Linked DNA regions of Homo sapiens: all the other regions are linked to region 3. The links are contacts of gene promoters, found by promoter capture Hi-C in blood cells and fetal thymus (Javierre and others, 2016). All regions are on one chromosome and are shown on one strand. Each heading gives the region's core, a stretch centred on a gene start or on the middle of the fragment in contact. The rest is flanking DNA. Distances are from core to core; before and after follow the strand shown.

The links. Contacts are between HindIII fragments. The CHiCAGO score rates a contact against its expected background, and 5 or more counts as called.
Region 1: a fragment that was not itself captured here is called in contact with the fragment with the promoter of USO1 in region 3 in 1 of 17 cell types (neutrophils); the score reaches 5.0 in neutrophils.
Region 2: a contact is called between the fragment with the promoter of CCNI here and the fragment with the promoter of USO1 in region 3, in 1 of 17 cell types (neutrophils). The highest score is 6.7, in neutrophils.

Annotation. Positions count from the first base shown.
Region 1 is chr4:77,166,974-77,171,551 of GRCh38, reverse strand. It overlaps CCNG2 (cyclin G2), which reads right to left. Exons shown (of 8, transcript NM_004354.3): 8 at 1,492-4,578. Among named protein-coding and RNA genes, the nearest start is that of CCNG2, 12 kb to the right of the region's middle. The HindIII fragment of the contact is 8,657 bases long and covers 1-4,578 here.
Region 2 is chr4:77,074,739-77,079,456 of GRCh38, reverse strand. It overlaps CCNI (cyclin I), which reads left to right and starts at 3,468. Exons shown (of 7, transcript NM_006835.3): 1 at 3,468-3,985. RefSeq lists enhancers at 2,302-3,272, 3,171-3,400 and silencers at 3,581-3,930, 3,991-4,140. The HindIII fragment of the contact is 6,616 bases long and covers 649-4,718 here.
Region 3 is chr4:75,721,498-75,726,204 of GRCh38, reverse strand. It overlaps USO1 (USO1 vesicle transport factor), which reads right to left and starts at 1,628. Exons shown (of 24, transcript NM_003715.4): 1 at 1,320-1,628. The coding sequence starts at 1,385. It also overlaps a transcript of G3BP2 not described here. RefSeq lists silencers at 1,160-1,337, 1,672-1,841 and enhancers at 1,422-1,501, 598-1,517, 1,518-2,438. The HindIII fragment of the contact is 5,085 bases long and covers 1-3,127 here.

The DNA.
Region 1 (4,578 bases), core at 1,996-4,495, 1.4 Mb before region 3:
ATGATTTATTTATTTATTTGGTGGTGTTGTGGTTGAGATGGAGTCTCACTCGGTCACCCAGGCTGAGTGCAGTGGTGTGATCTTAGCTCACTACAACCTCTGCCTCCTGGGTTCAAGCGATTCTCTTGTCTCAGCCTCAGGCATCCGCCACCATGCCCAGCTAATTTTTTTATTTTTAGTAGAGATGGGTTTTCACCATGTTGGCCAGTCTGGTCTCAAATTCCTGACCTCAGGTGATCCACCCACTTTGGCTTCCCAAGGTGCTAGGATTATAGGCGTGAGCCATCGCATCCAGCCTGAACATTTTATTATTTGCCATGAATTTTTGGGTTCTGCTACTAGACTGTAAGTTCCTCGAGGGCAGGGATAGGGTTTGTTGTGTTTGGCATTCCATAGCAACACAAGTGTGCCTGACACACAAAGCATTCAAATATCTGATGGGTGAATGAGTAAGTCAATGAAGGGAGTCCTAAGGTAGTAAGTAGGTTTGCCAGATGAGGGTGCCAAGGTGTTCTAGCCAGAGGAAATGGTGTGCATCAAGGCACTGAAGTGAGCAAAAGCATGGTGAGTGGGGTGTTATCAAACAGAACTGGGGTCCACCCACCCGGCCCAGCAAGATCAGATAGCCACACTGAGGTTTGCAGCAGGAGAAAGGAAAACATTTATTTGCGGGGCACCAAAGAAGGATCAGGCATCTAAGACTTAAATCCCAATTTCCCAGATGGTTTACAGGTAAGAGTTTTTAAAGGCAGAAAGGCAGAGGTTACAGGCGAAGTCAGAAATCAATACATAGAGACTATACATTGGTTTGACCTAAAAAGGCAAGGCATCTCGAAGTGGGGGTGGATTCAAAGACTTTCTAGTGTGCGATTGGTTAAGGAGATGACGTTTTGTCTCAACATTTGAAATCTACAGAAAAAAATGTAATCTCTGGCTCATGGGCATGACCTCCTCCAGGCCTCTCAGGAAGAAATTTAGAACAAAGAACGGTGGTCAGAGTTCAGTCCTCAGCTCCCTCTTATCTGAGGTCTATGTGCTAGCGCATCCATTTGCTAGGGGTTCAGGTTTCTGGAAAACAACTCAGGGATATATATTAAGATGTTATCTGTAGTTTCTATAGGGGAACCAAACATCCCATGATTCTAACTTACTTGGCTATTGTTTTGAGCCGCTATTTGTTGCTTATCACATTTCTCTCTTACTTCTCAGGGCTAGCCAGATGCCTGGAATTTCTCTTGGAAGAACTCACGATTTTTTTTTTAATTTCCATGTTTGGGAGTAGGGAACAGGCCCCTAAGAGGGGTCTCTGACTCATCTCAGATGTAGTGGGCCTGGGAAATACGTGGATGTGGATGCCATGAAACAAGGCTGAAAAGGGAGCCGGGAACAAATCAAGCTGGGTCTTCTAAGCCGCAGTACGAAGTTGGAACTTGATGCTAAGGTGTGGTGAGAGCCATGAATTTTAATTAGAGGAAGCATATAACCAGCGTGTGTGTTTTAAAGTTCATTCTTTATTCTGTTAATACACTAATAATTCAAATCAATTTTAGGAAAAAAAGGAAACTACAGATAGGCATAACTTAAAAAAAACATCACCTGTAATCTCACCAGAGATAATCACCATTTGACCATAAATAACAAGCAATCTGTCTCACTTATCTATTACTGTTTAACAACCCTCCCCCAAAACCTCGTGGCTTAAAACAATAATTTGTTATTTCTAGTGAGTCTGTGGGTTGATTGGGATCGACTGAGTAGTTCCTCTGTTTTCTGTGGTGTAGCTGAGGATACACCCACATTCAGCTGGGAGCTTAAGGCTGGAACATCCAAGATAATCTCTCATCCTCAAGAGTCTCTCTCCACATGGCCTCTCATCTTTCAGTAATCCAGCTGAGCTTCTTTGCAGCATGGTGGCTAGCTTCCAAAAAGGATAAAAGGAAAGCTGCCAGTCTCTTAAAGCCTAGGCTTGGACATATACTAAATTTCTTCTGCTGCACTTCAGTAAGCAAAGCCATTCATAAGGCCAGCCAAAACTCAAGAGAAACAGACTCCACTTGTGGACGGGAAGAGCAGCATGTAGGCACAGGGATGGAAAGACTGACTGGCCATCATACTGGGAAACTATCTATCACACAATTTGATTTGCTAAACACAAAGTAAGTTATTGACCATTTCTGGTAGTAAATAGTTAGGAAAACTGAATTCCAGTAACAAATGCAAAATACCTTGTCCTTGTCCATATATGAATCTAAGTGGGTTGTCTCAATAAGCTGACAATTTGCATGTGTGATGAGGGAGGAGGGAGGTGGGAGGTAGCAGGAACACCATATTGAAACCTAGTGTTGAAATAAAAGAAATTGTAAAAAAGAAAAAGGCAGACTCTAGACAAAGAAAATGGTTAAAATTGTCACGAGGAGTGTTCTGAAGCCAATGCCTCTCTACAGTTAACCTGAGTATGTATTAATCCTGAGTGTGACAGGTAATTAAAACACATTATTTGTCTAACCACACTTCCTGGGAGGAGGAAACAGTAGCAGAGCCAAACAGATGAAGACCCAGGACCTAGGCACAATACTTCACCATGCGCAACAGCAAAGTGCGTGCACCACATCCTAGAAAATGACAGGATCAAAACCTGAAAGGTCAAATCTCTCGCCAAGTCAACGGGGGTAAGGATGAGGACAAAATGGTAGCTTTCTCCTCACCCTCTGCTCTGAAAAGGGCAGGGGCTTCTCAATTTTATTCATCACAGTCATGGGAAAGCCACCTGGTTGAATGGCACAGGAGGGTATAACCAGGCTCCTGGACTTGTCTGTGAGCCTCCTAATAATGCCCAAAGAGAAAGGATAGCGCTTCTCAATTTTCACCTCTCTTCCTCATCCACACTTCCACTGCCTTAGTTCAGTCAGACTGGTCTCCATGCTGCTACTCTATATTGCCCAGTTCATCTTCTGTATAGCTAACAGAGTTCTTTCTCAATACACATTTTTTAAGGTCTAGGAAATGACAAGAAAAAAAGGCCAGAGACAGGTGCAGTGTTCAGATTAGACAGAGACTTGTATGTCATGAATAGATTTTTCTCCTGATTGTGCGTGACCTACTCAACAATTTTTCAGGAGATAGTTAAAATTTTATTTTAAAAGGATATGTAGATAGGAAGGCAGAGACCAGGAGTAAGCCTGGAAGCTGAGGGATCACAAATATATTACAGTACCTCTGCTGATAAAGAGTACAGGTCTAAACCATGCCAATGGCAGAAAAAGGGGGGACAGAGAGATATAAACAGTGTAAACGAAATCATACAAATGATAGAGGCTGGTGACCTCCATAAACAGGCAAAAGGAGATGAGCATATCACCTAAGTTTCCAACATGAATAGATGGAATTATTCGCTGAGAAAGACATAAAGAACCAGCAGGTTTGGGAGTAATCAGAAACCTCCAAGTGGCATGGCAGGCCATGTGAATAAACAGGTTGCAAGCTCAGCAGAGAGGTCTCGACTAAATACACTGAAAACCACAGGGGGAAGAGATGAAGCCACAAAGATGCTTACCCAGGAAAAATATCCAGTAAGAAAAGCAATACAATCCTGCAGGAGCTAAAGAGAGTCTTGAGATTTGGTAAGCCCCAAACAACTTTTACATCTCAACAAATCAAAATCTGAAAGCAGAATATATTGCCCACTATTTACTAATATTATTTAGTAAGAGAGGAAAGGTCATCCTCAAGTAGGATTCTCCACTAGAAGGGTAGGAAAACATACCCCTATCTCCAGAGAAGAGGTGTTACATGAAAACCATATTCAGTGTACCTGATTTTCTAACTAGAGAAAACAAAGGTCTACAAAAATCAAACTAGACAGATGGGGAACCTATTGGGGTGGGGCAGGGGAAAGGACCACCACTTGCAAAACCACCTGATACTTTTGAGGTCCACAAGAGCCAGAAGCTGGCGGGGCCCTATCACAGCGAACACCCCATACTTATTAACCAAACAACTGATTAAAACTTGCTTTGTCTCCTGAAAGATCGTTCTAATCTGCCAACCTGAGCATTCTGTTCTACTTAATACCTGTTGCCTCTCACTGAAAATTAATAGGCATTCTGGTAATATACCAGTCTCTGAGAGCATACTTAATGAGTCCATCCCACAAAGAGGTCAATTGTCAAATGACAGATTCTCTTTCAGTATCTCCAAGGCACAGATGCCAAACCTAGAGAACTTCTGCTAGCCAGTTAGAAGGCTCACTCTGGAATCACTGTAGCCTCACCTAAAGTCTTCTCATTAAAATACATCAAGAACTTTTAACAGATTAAAAATTAAGATGTGATCCCAAACAAGGAGAATTCATTAATAATTTTATTTTGAATTACAATCTATTATCACTTCAAAAAGAGCCACTTCAGAAAACATCCAACGGATGTTGACTTACCAGTAAAAATGTAAGTCATCAATGTATGATTTATACTACAGAATACATAATAAATTATATTTACATGCAATGACTAGACTATCACACACAAGGTAAAAAAATACAGTATTTTATGTACATTTTAAAAGATTTACATGTTCATATAC
Region 2 (4,718 bases), core at 2,219-4,718, 1.4 Mb before region 3:
CATGACAAAACCCCGTCTGTACAAAAAATACAAAAGTTAGCTGGGCATGGTGGTGCACACCTGTATTCCCAGCTAGTTAGAAGTCTGAGGTGGAAGGATCGCTTGAGCCTAGGAAGTTGAGGCTGCAGTGAGCTGAGATCGCACCACTGCAACCTGGGTGACAGGGTGAGACCTTGTCTCAAAGGAAAAAAAAAAAAGAAAGAAAATATCCATACTTTTTGTTCAGACAACTGCAACTAGTTACTTACCCACCTATTAATTACTTGTAATTATATTTATAGTAGATTAAATTGTCACTGGCAATCTCATAGGCAGTAAGATAGTTTTAATAAGGATAAGTATATAATTAAATGGGAGCTCTTAAAGACTCCTGGTAACATTTTAATTGGTTTAATCTTCTGCCTTGCAACTGGCAACTGGTATTCAGTAAAAGCCATAAAAACATAATATTGTTGGACCTAGGAATAGCCCCAAAGAGGTTATGAAGATGTTAATTGAATTATTTTTGTTTTTCATTTTTTGGGTAGCAGCTTTATTATAATTCAAACACCATAGAAGTAATACATTTAAAGTGTACAATTCAATGGTTTTTAGTACAGGTTGCATATCCCTGATACAAAAATCTGAAATGCTCCAAAATCCAAAGCTTTTTGAGTGCCAACATGACACTCAGAGGAAATGCTCATTTTGGATTTTCAGACTAGGTTGCTCAACCAGTAAGTATATAATTTAATGCAAACATTTCCAAAACTGAAAAAAAAGTTTAAAATTCAAAATACTTCTGGTCTCAAATATTTTGGATAATACTCAACCTAAATATTCACAGTTGCGCAACCATCAACACAATCAATCTCAGAACATTTTTCTCACCTCAAAAAGAAACCTTCAAAAAATCAGTTGGGCATGGAGGCATGCGCCTGTGGTTCCAGCTACACAGGAGGCTGAGGCAGGAGGATTGCTTGATCCTGGAGGTCAAGGCTACAGTGAGTCATGTTCACACCATTGCACTCCAGCCTGCAGCCTGGGGGACAGAGCAAGGCCCTGTTTCCAAAAAAAAAAAAAAGAAAAAAAGAAAAGAAAAAAAGAAAGAAACCCCCATATCATTTAACTATCATCCCCTAATCCCATGCCTGCCCCTAGCCCTAAGCAACCACTTCCTTACTTTCTGTCTCTATATATTTGCCTATTCTGGACATTCACGTAAGTGGAATCATATAATATGTGGTCTTTTGTGACTGGCTTCTTTCATTTAGCATACTGCTTTCAAAGGTTATGCATGTTATAGCATGTATTAGTATTTTCTTTTTATGGCCCAATAAGATTCCATTGTATAGGTCGGTGTGACGGCTCATGCCTGTAATCCCATCACTTTCAGGCTAAGGAGGGAGAATTGCTAGAGGCCAGGAGTTTGAGACCAGCCTGGACAACATAGGAAGTCTCATGGCACCCCCATCTGCGCCACGGAGCCAGACCCCATCTCTTAAAAATAAAAATTTGATTGTACATAGATGTATCACATTTGATTTATACAGGCGCCAGCTGATGAACATTTAGGTTGTTTCATCTTTGGCTATTATGAATAATGCTAACGTTTGTAAAAAAGTTTTTGCATGGACAAATATTTTCCTTTCTCTTGGGTATATATTTAGGAGTGGAATTTGCATTATTCTTATTGGAGTGAAAATCAGAAGCAATTTCATGGTCTAACAATGGAATTATGTTACACTCTCAATAGTATTATGCAGAAATGCTACAGTCTCAAGAGTAACATGCAGAAAAATGGTGGCTTTTTTGAATGAAGACCATATAATAATAGGCTACATGAAGTGAAAAAAAGAAAAAAAAAGGATACAACCCACTTGAAATCCTCCTAGGGCTTCCCATTCCTTCTTCTGTTCTATGGCATCTGTCCTCTGCTTCCACATCCTGCCTCAGTTGTCTGAGGGCCAGCCACACTAGCTTTCAGAGATTTTTAGAACGTCTCAGCTTCGGAGCCTTTTCACATAACTTCCTCTGCTTGTATCATTCTTTGCCCAGTGGTTTCAAGTCTCATCTTAAATGTCACTTCTTCAGAAAAACCTTCTCTGATATCCCAAACCAGGCGGAAAGGCAAGCGTTTCCACAGCAGCCGGCGATTTTCCATCTTAACGGTTTTAATACCAGAATTGTTTACTTGGTCAAATATTGAGAGCCTTTTATACACAGGGATAGAGGGTGAAACATGCAAGATCCCTGCCGCCTGCGACCTTATATTCTAGGGAGGGGATACATGCACAAGTAAACAAGTAAATGTACTTGGTAATTTTACATAGTGATAATTAGCTCAATGGTTATCCTCTGTTTGGACTGTAAACTCCATGAAGGCAGGAGCTATGTCTGTCTTGGCTACTTCCAGTTTGCTGAGTCTGGCCACTAAATAAACTCAACACATATTTTTTCACTGACAGTTAAAATAACTATATAAAAAACAAATGGAAAAAACAAACGAGACTTCTATAAATGGTTGAGATCTAGCTCTTCCTCTTTCAAAACTCTGTAATACTACATATTTTTAAATAATTAAAACAATCAAAATAGCAAAAAGTTACCGTTTGTACTAACAGAACCCCAAATAAAACCCATTTATGTCACCACACATTCTTTAAGCACCTGGTAATAAAACCTATTCGGAAATACTCAGACGTGTTGGTTGAGTGGATAAAATCCCCTTGCCACATTGCCAAGCAGGTTCCTCGCCGTCAGCAGTATAATTTACAGTGTTTCACTGAGGCCTTAAGCACCCATGATTTGATTCTCCCTAATTTTCCGATTCCTAAAACCCTTTAGAATCTCCCTCCACCCACACAATGTGGCAGTGAGAAAAACCGCAATTCTATTTACATGTCAACGGTAAGAACACGTAATACTTTGCTAGGTCAACAAATCTGCAAGATCTCCACCCAAGAGATCAGTAGCCCCTTCCCAGTGAATCCTTCTAAGAGCCTGGGGACGAGTAGGGCTAGATAAAACCAAGCTGCTGTAAAGCTGGACCACAGGAGCGGATCGTGAAATCCCCTCCCCCAAGCGCAGCGCTCGGCCGCTTCTTTCTTCCCCAGGCGCATGCGCAGCGCACTCTCCGGCCACCGCACGCCCCCTCAGTGGGGGCCCAGAGACGCTGACGTCACCGTGCGGTCTGCAAGCAACCCTTCCGCTCCTTCAAGGAAAATGAGTCCACGGACCTTCGGCTTTTCTTAGCCACGAGAAAACGTCCTCCCTCCTTCCATCCTAGTGCCAACGACTTCCCCAGCCCGTCTCCTTTCGGCCGCACTTCTCTGTACTTTCGTTGGACCGGGAAGGCGGCGGGGAGGAACAGGAAGGGTGAAAGACCAAGTCCGCGTAGTTTACAAGGAGTGGGCGAGTCTAGGAATCGGTCCGCGAGGGCGGAGCCGAGGAAGCCGGCACTTCTTCCTCCCTTCCCCTCTCTTCCCCTCCCTCCCCAGCCTTCCCCGCGAGCGGACGCGGCAGCGCCTCTGTCTCGCTTTTTCTTATTTTTCCCCCCTTTCCCCTTTCTTTTTTTTTTTTTCTTTTCTTTTCTCCCCTCCCCCCCTTTCACCATTTCCCCTCGGAGGCGCTTTCCCCGGGCAGGGGCAGAGCCGGTCTCACCCCCCGCCTCTCCCCGGCCCCCGCCGCCCTATGGCGAGAGGGAGCCCCCTCCCAACCCGGGCTCGAGCGGCGGCGGCCTCAGGCCGGGGGTCATCATGGAACTAATTCGCTGACCGACCCAGCGGCCGCAGCCGTGCGTCCCGCTCGAGCGCCAGCGCCCGCGCCCGCGCCCCCCGATCCGCTTCCCCTTTCTCCCTCCTCAGTTGGCCGAGTCGTCCCGCGCGCACCGCCTCCGCGCGCCTATGAGAATGAGGTGGTAACGGGCCCCCGGATGACCCCGCGTCACCACTGTGAGGCCTACAGCTCTGCCGGGGAGGAGGAGGAGGAGGAAGAGGAGGAGAAGGTGAGGGGCGGGGGCGGGGGCGGGGGCTCGACGCGTCTCCGCGGCCGGCGTCGACGCGCTGGGGCCCCGCTGCTCCCCCCGCGCCGCCCCCGTGGCAGCGCCCTTGGCCGCGCGCTGCTCGCCGGAGACCCACCCTCCCGCATCCCCCAGCCCGGGGAACCTCGGGGCCGCCCTCTTCGTCCTCTCCGGCCCAGACAGACCCGTCACCTGCCCACTTGAAAACGGCACTACTGTGTTCCTTTTCGGGCCAGTTTTTCTGTCAGCGAGTAACTTTTTTTTGTGGCAGCGGCAAATTAGCTACTCTATAGTGCGTGTTGGAGGCTCTACGAGCCCGTGTTAATACACAAAGAAGGGGACACACCCCCACCCTCAGGTTGAACGATTCTCCGGGGACACCAGGAGGATTACTAACTTTGCACGGCAGACTGAATGCCAAATGAATGGGGTGAACCTCCGGTGCTGTGAAATTCGGGGGAGGGCAACGTTACCCAGGGCTTGGGGCGGGTGGGTGGGGGGAATCCGGGGGAGGTGAGATTTGAGTTGTGCTCTAAAGGCTAGATTAAATAACTGGAATTTGAAAGGAGGACAGAGGAGCCTCCGCTGGAGCTAGGGGGCTCCGTTACAGATCCTTTTGGCAGAAGTTGACAATTGGGTATCAAAACAGTGGAAGGTGTTTCGGGAGGTAGGATGGATTCAGACTCTGAAGGGGTTTGAACTAAAATGTTTATGTTTT
Region 3 (4,707 bases), core at 379-2,878:
AGTTCAAGCGATTCTCCTGCCTCAGCCTTCCGAGTGGCTGGGATTACAGGCATGTGCCACCACGGCCGGCTAATTCTGTATTTTTAGTAGAGACGGGGTTTCTCCATGTTGGTCAGGCTGGTCTCGAACTCCCGACCTCAGGTGATCCGCCGGCCTCAGCCTCCCAAAGTGCTGGGATTAGAGGCGTGAGCCACCGCGTCCGGCCTACTTCACCCCTCTCAGTCTCATTTTTTGACTTTTAAGGTGAGAATACTCTCACCTATCTTGCAGGGTAGTTAACGATTAAAGCATAATGTGGAATATAAAGAGCTCAGCACAGAACCTAGCACAAGGTAAGAGCCTGACAAATGAAAGCTACTATATTATCCCTCAGGATCCCATTAACAAAGTTAGCCATTAAAGTGTTATACTTAGTCTCTTTTATGTAGATCTAAAATTCTTCTCAAATAAAAAGTTTATTTCAAAAAGGCATACACCCTCGATTCCATTAAACACTAACCAAACTTCAAAATAAGTGTATTCTAAACCTAGAATCTAAGCAACTATTAAATAATGTTTTCAGCGGCTAACCATTTTTTTTTTTTTTTAAATAACGCCGCAAATCATGTCATTAGGAGTTCAGGCAGAAAGCGGTGGACGTGTCCCCAAAGCAGTTTGAGCGCTTAAGATCCCTACTACGTTCAAGGTAGCATTTGCCAAATGATATATATTTGGGTGAGCCCGAAAAGCCGGATCTGAACAAATAACACCAGGCAGAACGACCGCTCTTCCAGTTGATGGGACAGGAGCAGGTGGATTTGTCCTTCAAAGAATATCGTTTTATTCTTAGCCAAATGCTCTCACCAACAGCTGGGTTTTAAACCTTCTCGCAGTTTTCCCCAACGCCCCAGTTTCAGACTGCGAGGGAGGGAGCAGGACTTCAGGCTCCTCTCGGCCAGTGCAGACGAGCGAAAGAGAAAGAGGGAGGGGCCCACGGCCCCGAGGGGCGTGGGAGGCAGTTCGGGCCAGCTCGGCCGCGCATCCGTCCCTTCCCGTGCGGTACCACCTGCGGACCACTCTCCTAGCCCGAGCTTCAGGGCCTACAGAGCTGCGGGGCGCGGCCGCCGTCAGTCCGGCCGAACGGCAGCAATGGGGACTGAGCTGGGGGCGTGATTGAATAACTCTGGGATTTCAGGAGCGGAAGGAGGGCAAAGGGGGAGGCGGCATGTGGATGCCCCCTCCATGGTGGGACGCTGGAGGTGACCTTCGGGTCTCCGAGTGCTCCGTCCCCGTCCCTGCCCGGACCCCTTCCCAAGTCCCAGACCCGCTGCTCCTCTCACCGTCTCGGCTTCTGTGTGCTGGGGTCCGGCACTCTGACCCCCCATTACCCCGCGGAGGAAATTCATCTTGCCGTTCAGCCACCAGGTTTACCGGCCCCTCCGGAAAAAAAAGAAGACAACTTCCCCCGCCCTCCGCAGGGCCTGGGCCCCAATCCCGCACTCTACACACTCCTACTGCTGCCACCACCGCCTCCAACTCGGCGGCCACTCCAGCCCTCTAAGCCCGGAAACAGCCGCCAGCAGCGGCCAAGATGCGCATGCGCGGGGACGTGGCATTACGTGGCGGCTCGAAGGTTGAAGGCAAAAGGGGAGCGGAGGCGAGAGGAACCTCTTAGCTAGGTTCCGCCGAAGCCCCACCCACTGCGCAGACCCCGCCTCCCACCGCAGGGGCACGCCTCCTACCCCCACCCTTCGCGGATTGATCCTGCTGGCCGCAGCCACCCACGTGGTGGAAGCCCGGCCCTGCAGGCTGGAGAGGATTTGATTAGACTACGCGTTTCGACTTGCAGGGTGTTTAATCGTCGCCAAGCGGGACTTACTGCAAGCTATCAAATCTGAGGTCTTATTTTGTTGAGTCGAAAGTGAAATTTTCCTTTGGCCAACGTGACAGGTAAGGCTTCCTGGCGCCTGAGAGGGTTCGCTTGGTTTGACGGTTTACTGGTACCAGCATTGTGGCTTTCTGATCCCGGTAAATTGCATTTCTTTACAGGGCTTTGTTTGGTGGTAAAAAGGGTTACTAGACACCCCTCATTCCACTGCCACTGGAGGGCGCATTTCTCAGCTCTTGCTCTTCAAACCTGCTGAAAGGAATTCCTAGATCTAAACACCAGGTACACCTCTATTTTCAAGTGTCGTCAGGAGGAAACCCATCAAACCCTACATTTAGCTTACTAGAGAAATACATTGTTCTGCTGTGTCAGTTTGGCGAGTAACATAATGTTTCGTTATTAACTCTCAACCCCTGTGTTTTCAGTTTTTTTTTTTTTAACATGAAAAATTGTCATTTTCTCTAATTGGTATGCCTGTTCCTTTGGCAGTGAGGTTGTCAGTACACATGCTTCTGGAATAGTCTTGTAAATTTCTTGAGGCTAAAAAGCACAGGTCTAGTTAGCTAACTGACTCATGCACCTCTCCCCTTGGATTCCCCACAGGTCTCAGATTCAGCATTTAAAATTGAACTCGTCATCTTTCCCTGCCTCCCTTAAAGAAAAAAAGTCAATATGCTGCTTCTACTGTGTGCGTGCCGTGCTCAGTAGTACCACTGTCCAAATAATTGCCTAAGCTAGACAGAGGAAGCTGGGAAGAATCTTAGACTCTGGCTTTCCACCCACACATGTCCAATCAATAGTCATGTCCTATCATTTCTATTTATAGAATATTTCTCAAATAGGTGTTCTGCTCTCCATCCTCTGTGCCTGTGACATAGATTATGTTCTTCTCATCATTTCTCATTGAGATGACAGCAACAGCCTCCTAATTAGTTTGTCTGCATTCAGCCCTGGCTTCCTTCCAGTCCAATCTCCAGTCCATCCTTGGGTGAGACTAACAACAACAAAACATCTGTTCATGTCATTCCTCTTAAAATCCTCCAGTTGTTCCCCATTCTGTCCAGAATAAAGTGCAAACTCCTTAGTTTGTCATACAGGCCTGTTATGATTTAGCTCCTGCCTACTTTTTCAGCTCCTGCCTCCCCCACATACTCTGGGCATTTTTCTCAGACCTGGATATGCCCTTCCCTTCCTTTCTCTTCATCAAGCAAACTCCTGCTAATTCCTTAAGGCTCAACTCTGACATCATTCTTGAAAGCTTTCCCTAAAATGTAGGTACACATCTATATGTTAGCACTTTGCAGTTATTGATACTGTATATGGTGTACATTGAATAAATGCTTGCTAAACCAAACTGTTAAGGGCAGGACTATGTTATTCATTTTATATCTCTGTTGCTTACCACTGTCTCATAAAAGGTGATATTGATGGATAAATGAATAAATTATTGAAAGAATATATGAATATTATACTAAGAGGAGGTTCCCTTTTTTTAATCTGTAAAGTGAAATTGTAGGGAAGACATCATAAGCTATGTGTTTCCTAGTGCCAACATTTTAAGCCTGGGCAACTTGGAGAATGGTGGGGTCATACTGCCAAAAATACTGTGCGCTAAGCATTGTCCTCTGCTTTAAAGCTATACACTTGACATTTTACCGTAGACATTTTCCATGGGAGCATTTTGTTGCAGCCTAAAAAAAGTAACCAGTAAATTACTCAGCATTTTTGTTACTAAGAAATGCATGCAAAGAACTTCACTTAAGCCCCTAAGCCTCACCCCTCCCTGAACCTCACTTCACCTTGTCCCTGAAACTCACTCTACCCCATCATCAGGAATGAGGCTCATAGACGGAGTGGGCCACAAATGTCTATTACTCCTCTTATTTAATAATTAAAAAGAGTGCCTTGACATTTTAGCAAAGTTGTTTAAAGGCACCAGCCTTGTCAAATGTCCTGTTTTGTTTTAAACTTTGGTGGGTACAGTAGGTTACTGTACTTCAGTGAGTAAAGTAGGTTACTATACTTTCGTGAGTGTAGTAGTAACAGCTTACTATGAATTTTCCCTGCATTTGACCTGTTTTCTTCCCCAGCAGCATCCCCTGCACAGGAGTGATGGACAGTTGGGTGCAAAGGTGATGAAGGTGGGATCCCCGAGGCATTGTCACTACAGAACAACCATGAAATAGACTCCTTATTTCAGAGGAAGAGTTACATATTAATCCACTTCTACTGATTTTGTAGAGGGAGAAAAGTCAGGGACTGTGTTGTATTCCTGTTTGCATCCTTTAATCATCTAGTATAATTCCTTTAATATGGTAGATGCTCAGGAACTACCTGAGTTAATAAAGGAAGAGAAAACTTGAACAAATTGTGACGGCCTGACTTGCACTGTTAATACTTCTGGCTTTCATAAATCTAAGCATTCAGGATAAGAGTCCTATGAATCATTAAAATACATATAATCAAAATTAAGAGTGATCTTTTTCTAAACCAAACCTGACAATAGATCAACGAACAAAATTCATTGGTTTGAAATTCATTTTTTCAAATTGCTTTTTTCAGTGGCCCACTTAACTTTCTAGTGGAAAACTCGCAAAAACAACGAAATATAATTGCATAAGATTGTTTTTTAGTTGGGGTGGTAGTAAGGTGGAATGTTGTCTATGCCTGCTTGGGAGGATAAATATAAATGATCATTTGTATTTGAAATCTATCATATATAGGTTTTTATTTATTTATTATTTTGGTAGGTTATAAGCCCCTTCAGTATCGTATATAGGTTTTTAAAGACGTAGCTCATGGCTATAATCCCAGCACTTTGGGAGGCCAAGGTGGGAGGA